Regions from separate parts of the Homo sapiens genome. Here all the other regions are linked to region 3. Evidence: promoter capture Hi-C in 16 types of primary human blood cells and fetal thymus (Javierre and others, 2016). All regions are on one chromosome and are shown on one strand. The core of a region is centred on a gene start or on the middle of the fragment in contact, and the rest is flanking DNA. Distances in the headings are between cores, read along the strand shown.

What was found. The method cuts DNA at HindIII sites, captures the fragments that hold promoters and counts their contacts. A CHiCAGO score of 5 or more calls a contact.
Region 1: a fragment that was not itself captured here is called in contact with the fragment with the promoter of C12orf56 in region 3 in 1 of 17 cell types (naive CD8 T cells); the score reaches 5.8 in naive CD8 T cells.
Region 2: a contact is called between the fragment with the promoter of ATP23 here and the fragment with the promoter of C12orf56 in region 3, in 1 of 17 cell types (naive CD8 T cells). The highest score is 5.2, in naive CD8 T cells.

Annotation. Positions count from the first base shown.
Region 1 is chr12:69,741,659-69,744,916 of GRCh38, reverse strand. The region is part of intron 1 of RAB3IP (RAB3A interacting protein); the gene reads right to left. Among named protein-coding and RNA genes, the nearest start is that of RAB3IP, 4.4 kb to the right of the region's middle. The HindIII fragment of the contact is 1,122 bases long and covers 969-2,090 here.
Region 2 is chr12:57,940,198-57,943,703 of GRCh38, reverse strand. ATP23 (ATP23 metallopeptidase and ATP synthase assembly factor homolog) reads right to left here and starts at 2,137. Exons shown (of 6, transcript NM_033276.4): 1 at 1,816-2,137. The coding sequence starts at 2,002. RefSeq lists enhancers at 833-1,002, 1,459-2,268. The HindIII fragment of the contact is 6,393 bases long and covers 1-3,506 here.
Region 3 is chr12:64,388,947-64,392,595 of GRCh38, reverse strand. It overlaps C12orf56 (chromosome 12 open reading frame 56), which reads left to right and starts at 1,838. Exons shown (of 13, transcript NM_001170633.2): 1 at 1,838-2,282. The coding sequence starts at 2,031. The HindIII fragment of the contact is 6,871 bases long and covers 1-3,649 here.

The DNA.
Region 1 (3,258 bases), core at 280-2,779, 5.4 Mb before region 3:
AATAATTTTAAAGTTGGCTTCCCAAACTAGCATTTTAGTTATGACAAAAAAAATCACATTTATCTTTTAAGAAGCATTCTATGTTTATAAATGCAAATGTAATTAATAGCCCAAGGGCAAAATTACTCAAATGGTCAATCAGGCTACACAATTTTCCCATTTTTATTATAATAGATCACAAATGAATTCCCACTAATTCCACAATACTTTTTTTTTTTTTTTTTTGAGATGCAGTCTCGCTCTGTCGCCCAGGCTGGAGTGCAGTGGCACAATCTCGGCTCACTGCAACATCTGTCTCCTGAATAGCTGGGATTACAGGCGCCTGCCACCACACCCAGCTAATTTTTTGTATTTTTAGTAGAGATGGGGTTTTGCCATGTTGACCAGGCTTGTCTCGAACTCCTGACCTCAAGTAACTGTCTGCCTCAACCTCCCAAGTGCTGGGACTACAGGTGTGAGCCACCATGCCCGGCCTAATTCCACAACACTTCAATGTACAACCTGACATGTGTAGAGATGTTAGTTATTGCAGTGTGTTATGTTGACAGTTTTCAGAAAATGTTCTGAACTTATGAGCTAATATTATATTTAATTACAAATAATTATTTGTAATAATACAATGAGCTAATATTTAATTACAAATATTTATTTGTAATTAAATATTTATTTAAATTAACAGAACACCGCATGTTCTCACTCATAAGTGGGAGATGAACAATGAGAACACACGGACACAGGGAGGGGAATATCACACACCAGGGCCTGTGGGGGAGTGGCGGGCTAGGGGAGGGATAGCATTAGGAGAAATACCTAAGGTAGATGATGGGTTGACCGGTGCAGCAAACCACCATGGCACGTGTATACCTATGTAACAAACCTGCACATTCTGCACATGTATCCCAGAACTTAAAAGTATAATTTTTTAAAAAAATCATTTTCCAAATTTCTTTTTCTCAATAATGGAAGCTTCATTTTACATATTCTCTTAAGAATATATGCCAACTAAACATTCAACAGGTGCTGAAATACGCACTGACTAAATAAATAAACAAGAGTCTTTAGAGAAGGAATGAATAGCAAAGCGGTAAAGAGTGGAGACAGTTATTCAGGCTACATTTTTGCTGAAAAAGATAGAAATGAAACAGTAAATACTTTGCGAGAGTATCAAAACTGGAGAAATTGAAGTTTGAGAAAACCTGAGCATTTTAACAGACTAACTTCAGAAAACCTTCCTTCTAGTTCAGATTCTGTCACTGACAAGCTGTGTGAACTGACGCAAGTCATTTAATCTCTCTAAGGTTCAGTTTTGACATCTATAATGGTAGTGATATTATCTCCCCTGCCTACATTTGAGAAAATCAAATGGCATATCAATGTAAAAATGTATACATTGTAAAGCACAACATAAATGTATGATTTTATAAAGATCTAAGAAAGAAAAAAATGTAATGGGGGAAATAGCAAAAGCATACTGAGGGGTTTGTCTTACAAATCAGAAGGTATCTTTATTTATCTTAGGTAAAAGGAAAGAAAGGGAAAACTAGTCTTTATGAGGCATGTAGTTCAAATATGATTCTTTTCCCCACAGGGAATTGATACAAATTTGCTTATTGTTTTTTCAAACTTATTTTGGTTTTTCTTTTATACTTTATCCTTATCTGACAACCAGATGCTCCCAAACAAATATTCAATACTATTACTTTTATCTGGGCATATCAAATTACAATTCACTTATTTAAGTGGTTCTAAGCTATCATCTATATGCTCCTTTATGCTCATAGGGCATTCTCACATTCTTGAATAGTTTCTTCATACTAAGCTGTCAATTCATATACTTATTTGTGTATGTATCCATACCCCTCAGAGGAATTTCATCAACTGCCATTATGATTATATTTACAATCCTACTGTTAACGACAAGCATCAAATCTTTCATGAACTTGAACTATTTGAATAATTTTCATTCTTTTTCCTCTAAGTAATATCAGTTTACGGCTATAGTTATCTAATTTCGTGTTGCCCTATATTCTAAGATAAATCAGATTACTTTTTCCACTTTTCTCTAACCATGACTATGTACGATGTAAGCTTATAAAACTACCTCATTTAGTGGTAAGTTGAAAAGGAAAGCAGAAGGGAAAATAGAGATAGCAAGTTAATGCTCCCAGTTGTATAAATATCTTCCTCTTCCTTCCTTTGTCCCTTCATTTCTCAATGTTCATTTCAATTTCTACTGCTAGAGCAGCTTCAAAACATCCTAACATTCTTCAACTGATCATCCATCACCAAACACAGCACAGTACTTACCTGGCCCGATGTTAAAGCTATAAAATGAGGTAAGCCCTACTCTCGAAGCACTTGTAGACTAGAGGAAGAGACCACCTTGCCAATAAACATGTTTCTAGGGCCCTAGAAACAATTACAAATACAACACAAATATCAAAGTTCATAAATACCAAAAAAGAGGTACTCAGTATTATAAAAGCATAAAATTTTTAAAAAGAGTACCATCTGGTACAACTAAGGATAGTAGCATAAAAAAGGAGAAACAAGCTAGAAAGCAGTTTACAAAAGCTCAGATATTTTGTTTTTAGGATATCAAATGCGTAGTAACCAATTTACTATCCTTTGATGAACTGCATCTTAATCAGAATTATATCGGAAAAAAGTTTAGTGTGAAAAAGCGTACTCCCTTGGAATATCTTCAAAGCTTTCCCTCATTACCTCAATGCACAAATATCTCTACCCACTATCCATCTGTCCTTCCTCTCCACTACTCAACTATCCTAGCACTTTGTCTTAGTTGACATTCATTAAAATATGTAAAGTGCGTTCTACATTTTGAAGAACTTATAAAAGATATGGGAATGATTATAAGGCCCTACCTTCCATATTCCTTAAGAACAGTTTCCTTTAACCCCTACTGTGACTTGCAGAGTAGATGCTCAATGAGTATTTGATTTAAAAAAATCTCTGGTGACACAATGAGAATTACATATTACATTAACATTACGTATCTCATAAAAGCTAAATTACAAAGTTCTTCAGCATTATAAGCTACACATAAAGAAGTGATAATGTAGTGATTATGAGCAAACAATTCTTTAGCATTACCACTTATACATGAAGAAATGACAGAGTGTAGTGGTTAAGAGCACAGACATGGAAGACAAACTGTCTGACATCTAATCTAGACCTGTCACTTAATTAACTATGTGACGTTGAGCAAACTACATAAGGTCTCAGGGTCTCAATTTT
Region 2 (3,506 bases), core at 888-3,387, 6.4 Mb after region 3:
AAAATCAGTACTTTTTTTTTTTTTAGACAGGGTCTCGCTCTGTTGCCCAGGCTGGAGTGCAGTGATGCAATAACAGCTCACTGCAGCCTCAGCCTCCTGGGTTCAAGCAAATCTCCTGCCTCAGCCTCCTAAATAGTTGGGACTGCAGGCATGAGCCACCACATCCAGCTAATTTTTTTTATTTTTTGTAGAGACAGGGTCTCCCTATATTACCCAGGCTGGTCTTAAACATCTGAGCTCAAGCAATCCCCCTGCCTTGGCTCCCCAAAGTGCTGAGATTACAGGCATGAGCCACCGTACCCAGCCCCATAAAATCTATTCTTCACAACAACCCTAAAAAAGGTATTTTCCCCTTCTCTTTTTTTACAATAAGGATAGTGAGGATCAGAGAAGTTAAGTCACCTTCCACACCTGAGGAAAGGGATCCGCATTTGAACCCACATCTAACTCTGCAACCCATACTCTTTCCACTCTATTCCACTTTGAAGCACCTTCAAGGCAGGGTGCTAACTCATCTTTCTACTTCCCCCACCAGAACCTGGGAGGCACTCAATACATATTTGTACAGTAAATACAATATCATCATTCTCTCCCCTTTTACCCTCAACTCCCCTTCCTCCTCCTACCTCCCTGAGTCTCTACAAGCAGGTAATCCCAAGAAGGTTGGAAAATCTTTCGGTGGTTGACTTTTGAACTGTGACTGACTAGCTATGAAATAGTAACCTTGCTTTGGGACAAGTATGTTTAAGACTAATTTTCTGAATGTATCTGAAAGTAAACTTAAGAAGTCTATGTCAATGTAAAGGAATTAAGAAATCTTCTCTAGTGCAATGTCTCTGGGACGGGAGAGAAATTTGTCAATGGGCAGTTGTGTCCCTGTTTAACCCACAGCAGTTCTTAACCTTTGTGGGGTCGTTGGCCTCTTTGAGAATATGATGAAGCTATTAACTCTCTCCCCCGACCAAAAAAAAATACACTTTGGGCCGGGCGCAGTGACTCACGCCTGTAATCCCAGCACTTTGGGAGGCCGAGGCAGGCAGATCACGAGGTCAGGAGATCAAGACCATCCTGGCTAACACGGTGAAAACCCGTCTCTACTAAAAATACAAAAAATTAGCAGGGTGTGGTGGCGAGCGCCTGTAGTCCCAGCTACTCGGGAGGCTGAGGCAGGAGAACGGCGTGAACCCAGTAGGCGGAGCTTGCAGTGAGCAAAGATCGCGCCACTGCACCCCAGCCTGGGCGACAGAGCGAGACTCCGTCTCAAAAAAAAAAAAAAAATGCACTTAGGGGCACACACACACACATACACACGATTTCACAGACCATTTCAGGGATTTCTACGCTCTGAAGCCCATTCATGCATGAACCACTTCCAAGGAACGGTAGGTTTGCAAAACTGCTTTTATATTTTTACAGCCTTGGTATGCCTTAATTACATTTTTACATTTTTACAGCCTTTGTGTGCCTTAATTAACCTGGCTGGCACTTTAAAACTTGGCCTCACCCTTACCCTGAAGTCACAGTGTGGCTGCATAACTTATGTAAGAAATCGGAGGATCTGTCACAACAGTGAGTGACAAAAAAGGGCAGACAAATTCATTCCACAAGCCAAAAACAGCGACGAAAAGGGTCTCAGCGCCACCTCTAGTGGGGAAACTGAGCCTCAGGCTCCCAACCCAGCCCCCATGATGCCCAGTCTGTCTAGACTCTGTGCTGAACCTGAAGCCCCTGGCCAGGTGTTGCCCAGGCCCTTCCTCGCCCACCCGGTCTCAGACCCATTCTGTGGAACCACAGCCTCCAGGTCATGGCTCCTACTTGTCTCCAGCGTCTTCAGGAGCCTAAGCTGGCACTTCTGGTTGCTGGTGAAGAAGCTGGAGAAGAACCCTTGCTGGGGATTCCCCTGGGCCAGACGCTCGGGGAAGACCTGGCAAGAGACGTGTTGCTGCTGCAGCTGCTCCCCTGCCGCGGGGCCCCGCCGGCGCTCGTCCGGAGCTCCCGCCATGCCTCCCGCAGACCTCGCCGCTGCTTCCTCCTGGCTCAGGCGGCCAGAGCGAGACTGGGAAAGGTAACCTCCCTCCCGCCAACGCGACCGCCCAGGCCCTCCCTCCGCAGGGAAGAAGGGCAGCCTGGCTGGGCTGAAGACGTTAGGCGGGAGGGGGCTTTGAACCTGACGGGGAGCGCGGGAGGCGGGGCGAGAGGCGAGGGGCGGGGCGAGAGGCGAGGGGCGGGGCGAGGGATGAGGGGCGGGGCGAGGGCATGGGGCGGGGCGCGGGGCCCGATGCTGTTGGGCGGAGCTGGGTCTTGCGACTTCCCTCAAAGGCTGTAACAACCCGGCTGCCGCGGATTTCGCTGCTGCCCTCCCAGTGTGGGTGACATGTCTTTATAAGCGTTGTTCTGCAGCTTCCTGCTGCCTGCTGAGCTCTAAGGGTGTCCCGCCTCCTCGCAGACACTCCTTCCTCACCTCGGGGCGAATATTGGCCACTAACTGCTCTTGTGCCGCCGAAGGTCTCGGCCATCCTCCCACTCCCTGCCTTCTTCCGGGGCAAGCCAGTTGTCATTTCTGGCCCGCCACTTTCCCGACCCCTGCCATCCCTCAGATCCACTCTGCCCAAAGATGCCTCTGGCCATATTGAAAGCAGTGTTTTTCAGAAACGTTTTAAAACTATAAAGAATGACTAGTCACATCAAAATCCTCAAAATGTAGGAACCAACTACATTTTTTCTTCCCACCTGTACCCATTCGTTTACCCTACTCTTCTGCCCCACCCCCCACCAATAACTCCCTGATAACAAAGCGCACCCTGTTTACTTCTACCTCTCAGCCTTAACTCATACTGTCATTTCCATCTTTAAGCTCCTTGCCTCAGCCCCTATGATTGGGGCCCAGGTCAAATCTGCCTACTCCACAGGGCATTCCCAGATACCTTAATCAAAATTAATGTCTCCTGATCTCCCAATGTACAAAGCACTTTGTACCTGTTAATCATTTTCATCGTAGCCTGCCAGGTTTTATCCAATTTGTGTGTTTCTCTTTTCCTACTAAATTATTCCACTCAGCTCACACATTTATTCAGCACCTACTATGATGGGCCAGGCAAGGTGTAAGAGACTGAGGAAACACATGACTAAGAAAATTGCTAAAGATGAAGAGCAGCATGTGGTTTATGTAAGAAACATATCTGAAAAATATAGGCTCAGCAGGCCTTTAGGGTTATGAACAGTGCTTTATGTGTCATAGATGCTCAATATCTAAATTGAGTGGGATGCTAGGATAGTCATTCATCTGGAATATTATAAAAATACAAACAACTCCTATGTACATAGACTATTAAAGCCAGAAGTCAAAAAAAAAGTAACTACTTTTTAATTAAATTCACCTTGGATACATTATTTCCAATCCTCACTACAACCCTGCAAAGTAAGTATTATCTCTAATTTGCAGATAAAGTGGGCTCAGCAAAATTCAATAATTTATCTAGGACCACACAACTAGCTTTCAATCCAGT
Region 3 (3,649 bases), core at 589-3,088:
TTGGAGGAAATAGCCATGCGGCATCTTTTATCAATAAAGGTTGCTACGGATGGTGTAGTTCATTCATTTTTCATCCATTTATGAAGTTAGGAAGGCTCAGATGTGTGATGAGATCCTAAGAAAACTTTAACTACTAGGTCATTTAAGATTTTGCCAGCAGGTGGCACTTCTCTTTACTCACTTGAGTTCCTTAACATGATCTTAGACTTAAGTCTAGCCAGACCCTTACATGGCGGTGGTTCATGCCTGTATTCCCAGCACTTTGGGAGGTCAAGGCAGGCAGATCAGTTGAAGTCAGGAGACAAGCCATGGCCAAGATGGTGAAATCCTGTCTCTACTAAAAATACACACAGAAAAAAAATTAGCCAGGCATGGTGGTGTACACCTGTAGTCCAAGCTACTTGGGAGGCTGTGGCAGGAGAATGGCTTGAACCCAGGAGGCAGAGGCTGCAGTGAGCCGATATCATGCCACTGCACTCCAGCCTGGGTGACAGAGGGAGACTCTGTCTCAAAAAAAAAAAAAAAAAAAAAGTTTAGCCAGACCAAAACATTTCTCTTTCCCTTTGTACTAGTGTAGTCTACAATATCTGTTTATGGATTGTAATATATTTATACCTTCTTTCCACAAGGGATTTGAAGTTGCTTATAACATACAGTATACAATAATAAAATATGTAGAAAGGGAGAATATAAAGAATATATCAAATTTGATTCAGGGTTGCTGGCAGCCACAGCAATGAACGATATGGTTTCATTATCAGGTTTTTGGGTCAATGGGGAGGGGAAGAGAATAACTTTTCTAGGATTCGAAATAAAAAATGGAACTTCTGACTTAGAGCATTTCTGTTGTGCCCTTCTCATTTCTCTAACCTAATTAGTAAGTTATTCTTGGCCTGTAAAAACTAAGGAATACTTACTCCTCTGCAGCCTCAGGGTATGTAATCCGCATTCTTCAGTCTATCAGCTTCAACTTTTCAAGATGCCAGCATCACCCATTCATTCTTCCTGCATAGATTGTCCTGGGCATTGGAAACAAAACCATATGCCTTAGGTTGGTTTGGGTGTGCTCACATCAATTCATGTGAAGAATCCCTTTCTCAAAGGCTGGGCGAGGTGACTTAACGCCTGTAATCCCAGCACTTTGGGAGGCCGAGGCGGGCGGATTACCTGAGGTCGGGAGTTGGAGATCAGCTTGACCAACATGGAGAAACCCCGTTTTTACTAAAATATACAAAATTAGCTGGGCGTGGTGGCGCATGCCTGTAATTCCAGCTACTCAGGAGGCTGAGGTAGGAGAATCGCTTGAACCCGGGAGGGGGAGGTTGCGGTGAGCCGAGATGGCGCCATTGCACTCCAGCCTGGGCAACAAGAGCAAAGCTGCGTCTCAAAAAAAAAAAGAGAAAAGAAAAAAAAAATCCCTTTCTCACTGGTTGGAGAAAGAAGACCTATGTTTACACTCCGACAATATCAGAAAGCTGTGCCAGGCCATGTTATAACCAAAAGCTAAATCTGTGTGATTGGGTTTAATAGGTTTCTAGGGTTGTTAAAAATAAATCGGTAAATTAAACTCTTTCAAGTTTCTAACAGGAAACCAGATTGAAGCTGGCTTCCATTACCAATAAAGTTTGTATTGGATGGTGTGATCCGCAACAGAGTACGCAGTGGTGGGGACTGGCATTAGGGGTGGGCGGGAGAGACCCTAAAAATCCACCGCCCTTCGGCCGCAGGGGACTTCACGGTGATGAGCCCGAGGTGCCCATCAACTCGGGCCTGAAGGACCAGCGTCTTGCCCCGCCCATCGCCGTCTGAGGTTAGGACAAAGATCGAGAGGCTGGACAGGGCTGGGGAGGGCGCTCCAGGGAAGCCGACCTAGCGTCGATTCCTGCAGTTGCGGCCCGGGTCCCCGCGCCTGGAGAGGAGGCGACGCGTGGCCGGCGGCTTTGTGGCGCGCGGGTTCCAGCGCGGGGGCGGGGAGAGGGCGAGCTGAGGGCCTCGAGTCCCAGCACTCCGCCACGCTGCGGGCGCCGGGCATGGCCAGCCCCTTGCCGTCCGGCTTCCCCGCGCGCAGGAACAGCCGCCTGGATGTGTTCCTGCGGCGGCATCTGCCGCCCGAGGTCTACGACGCGGTCCGCGCCTACGAGCCATGCATCGTGGTGTCCAACTCTGAGAACCACATCCTCAAGTATGTGGTGCTAAGCGACCGGCTCGTCTACCTAACCGAGAACCCGCCCAAGTCCATCCGGCGGGTAGTGGCTCTGCGGGACGTCGTGGCCATTGACCTGGTGAGCGGCGCGGGTGGGCAGGCGGGCTCGGGAGCGCAGTGAGAACTCCCGGCTGGGGCCCCCAAACCCAGCCCTCCTGCGCGGGGAGGGCTGCCCCATCCTGCCCTCGACTCCCCTCCTCTTATTTGAGAACGAGGAACACAGGGAAGCTGTGGATTGCTGTGAGCACTCCTAATACAAACACGTCTCCCATTCTCCTCGTGTCTGCCTGTTCACCCATTCTCCCGCCTCCCCTACCCCACGTAGGGCTACAGGTTTGAGAACCGAGCTCCCTATCAAAAATACCTTTTAAAGTCATTCCTTTGTTAACAAAGCACCTAGTCAGTGCCAGGCACTGTGCTAGACTCGGAGGATGCAAAAACGAAAGAGGGCCCCTACCTAGAAGCAGTCGCTGGAGGGCTAGAAAGCCAACACCCGTGCAAATAAATGCTGTGTGTTAAGTGCTGTTATATCTCATTTACTTTTTTGCCCCCGATGCTTAGAGCATGTTAGATGCTCAATAAGAATAAATGCATAAGGCCGGGTGCCGTGGATCACGCCTATAATCCTTACACTTTGGGAGGCCAAGGTGGATAGATCACCGGGGGTCAGGGGTTCGAGACCAGGCTGGCCAACATGGTGAAACGCCGTCTCCACCAAAAGTACAAAAATTACCCAGGCGTGGTCGTGTGCACCTGTAATCCCAACTACTTGGGAGGCTGAGGCACAAGAATCGCTTGAACCTGGGAGGCGGAGGTTGCCGTGAGCCGAGATCGCCCCACCTGCACTCCAGCCTGAGCTACAGAATGAGTGAGACACCGTTCCCCTCCACCCCCTCCCCAGCAAAAGAATAAATGCATGAATAAGCAGATGCGTTAATGAGATGCGCACAGGACGCTTGGCAATCTCAGGCGGCTCACTTGATCCAAACTGGGCGCAGGGCCTGCTGGGAAACGTCTTGGAAGGAGGGGCGTCGACGCTAGGAGCTGGGCTTGAAAGACGTCGGGCCTGCCACAGCCTGTCGCCGGTTTTCGGGTGCTGTTCCTGTACCCCTTTCGTCCAGGAATAGATTTACCTTGTAAACCAGCAACAGACTGGAAGCACGGTCTCCTCTCCAATTACTGTTTTCCCCGCCTGGCTCCCTTTGTCTGAGCTGCTCTCCAGGTGTGTTCTTGGTTTTTCCGTTGGGGACAGGTGTCTAGCCTCGTTTTTTCATTCCCTTGACTGAGCCCCAAGGGAGAGGTTGGCGAGACGCTTGATGGAGCTGTTTTGCTGAGGAGTCATGGCTTGTTTTGAACGAGTCTGTAAGAAAAGAATAAAATTAAATGAAAAAAAAAGATTTTTTTTCTACTCGGAATACCTTTGTGAACTAATGTAACTGTGCCAAT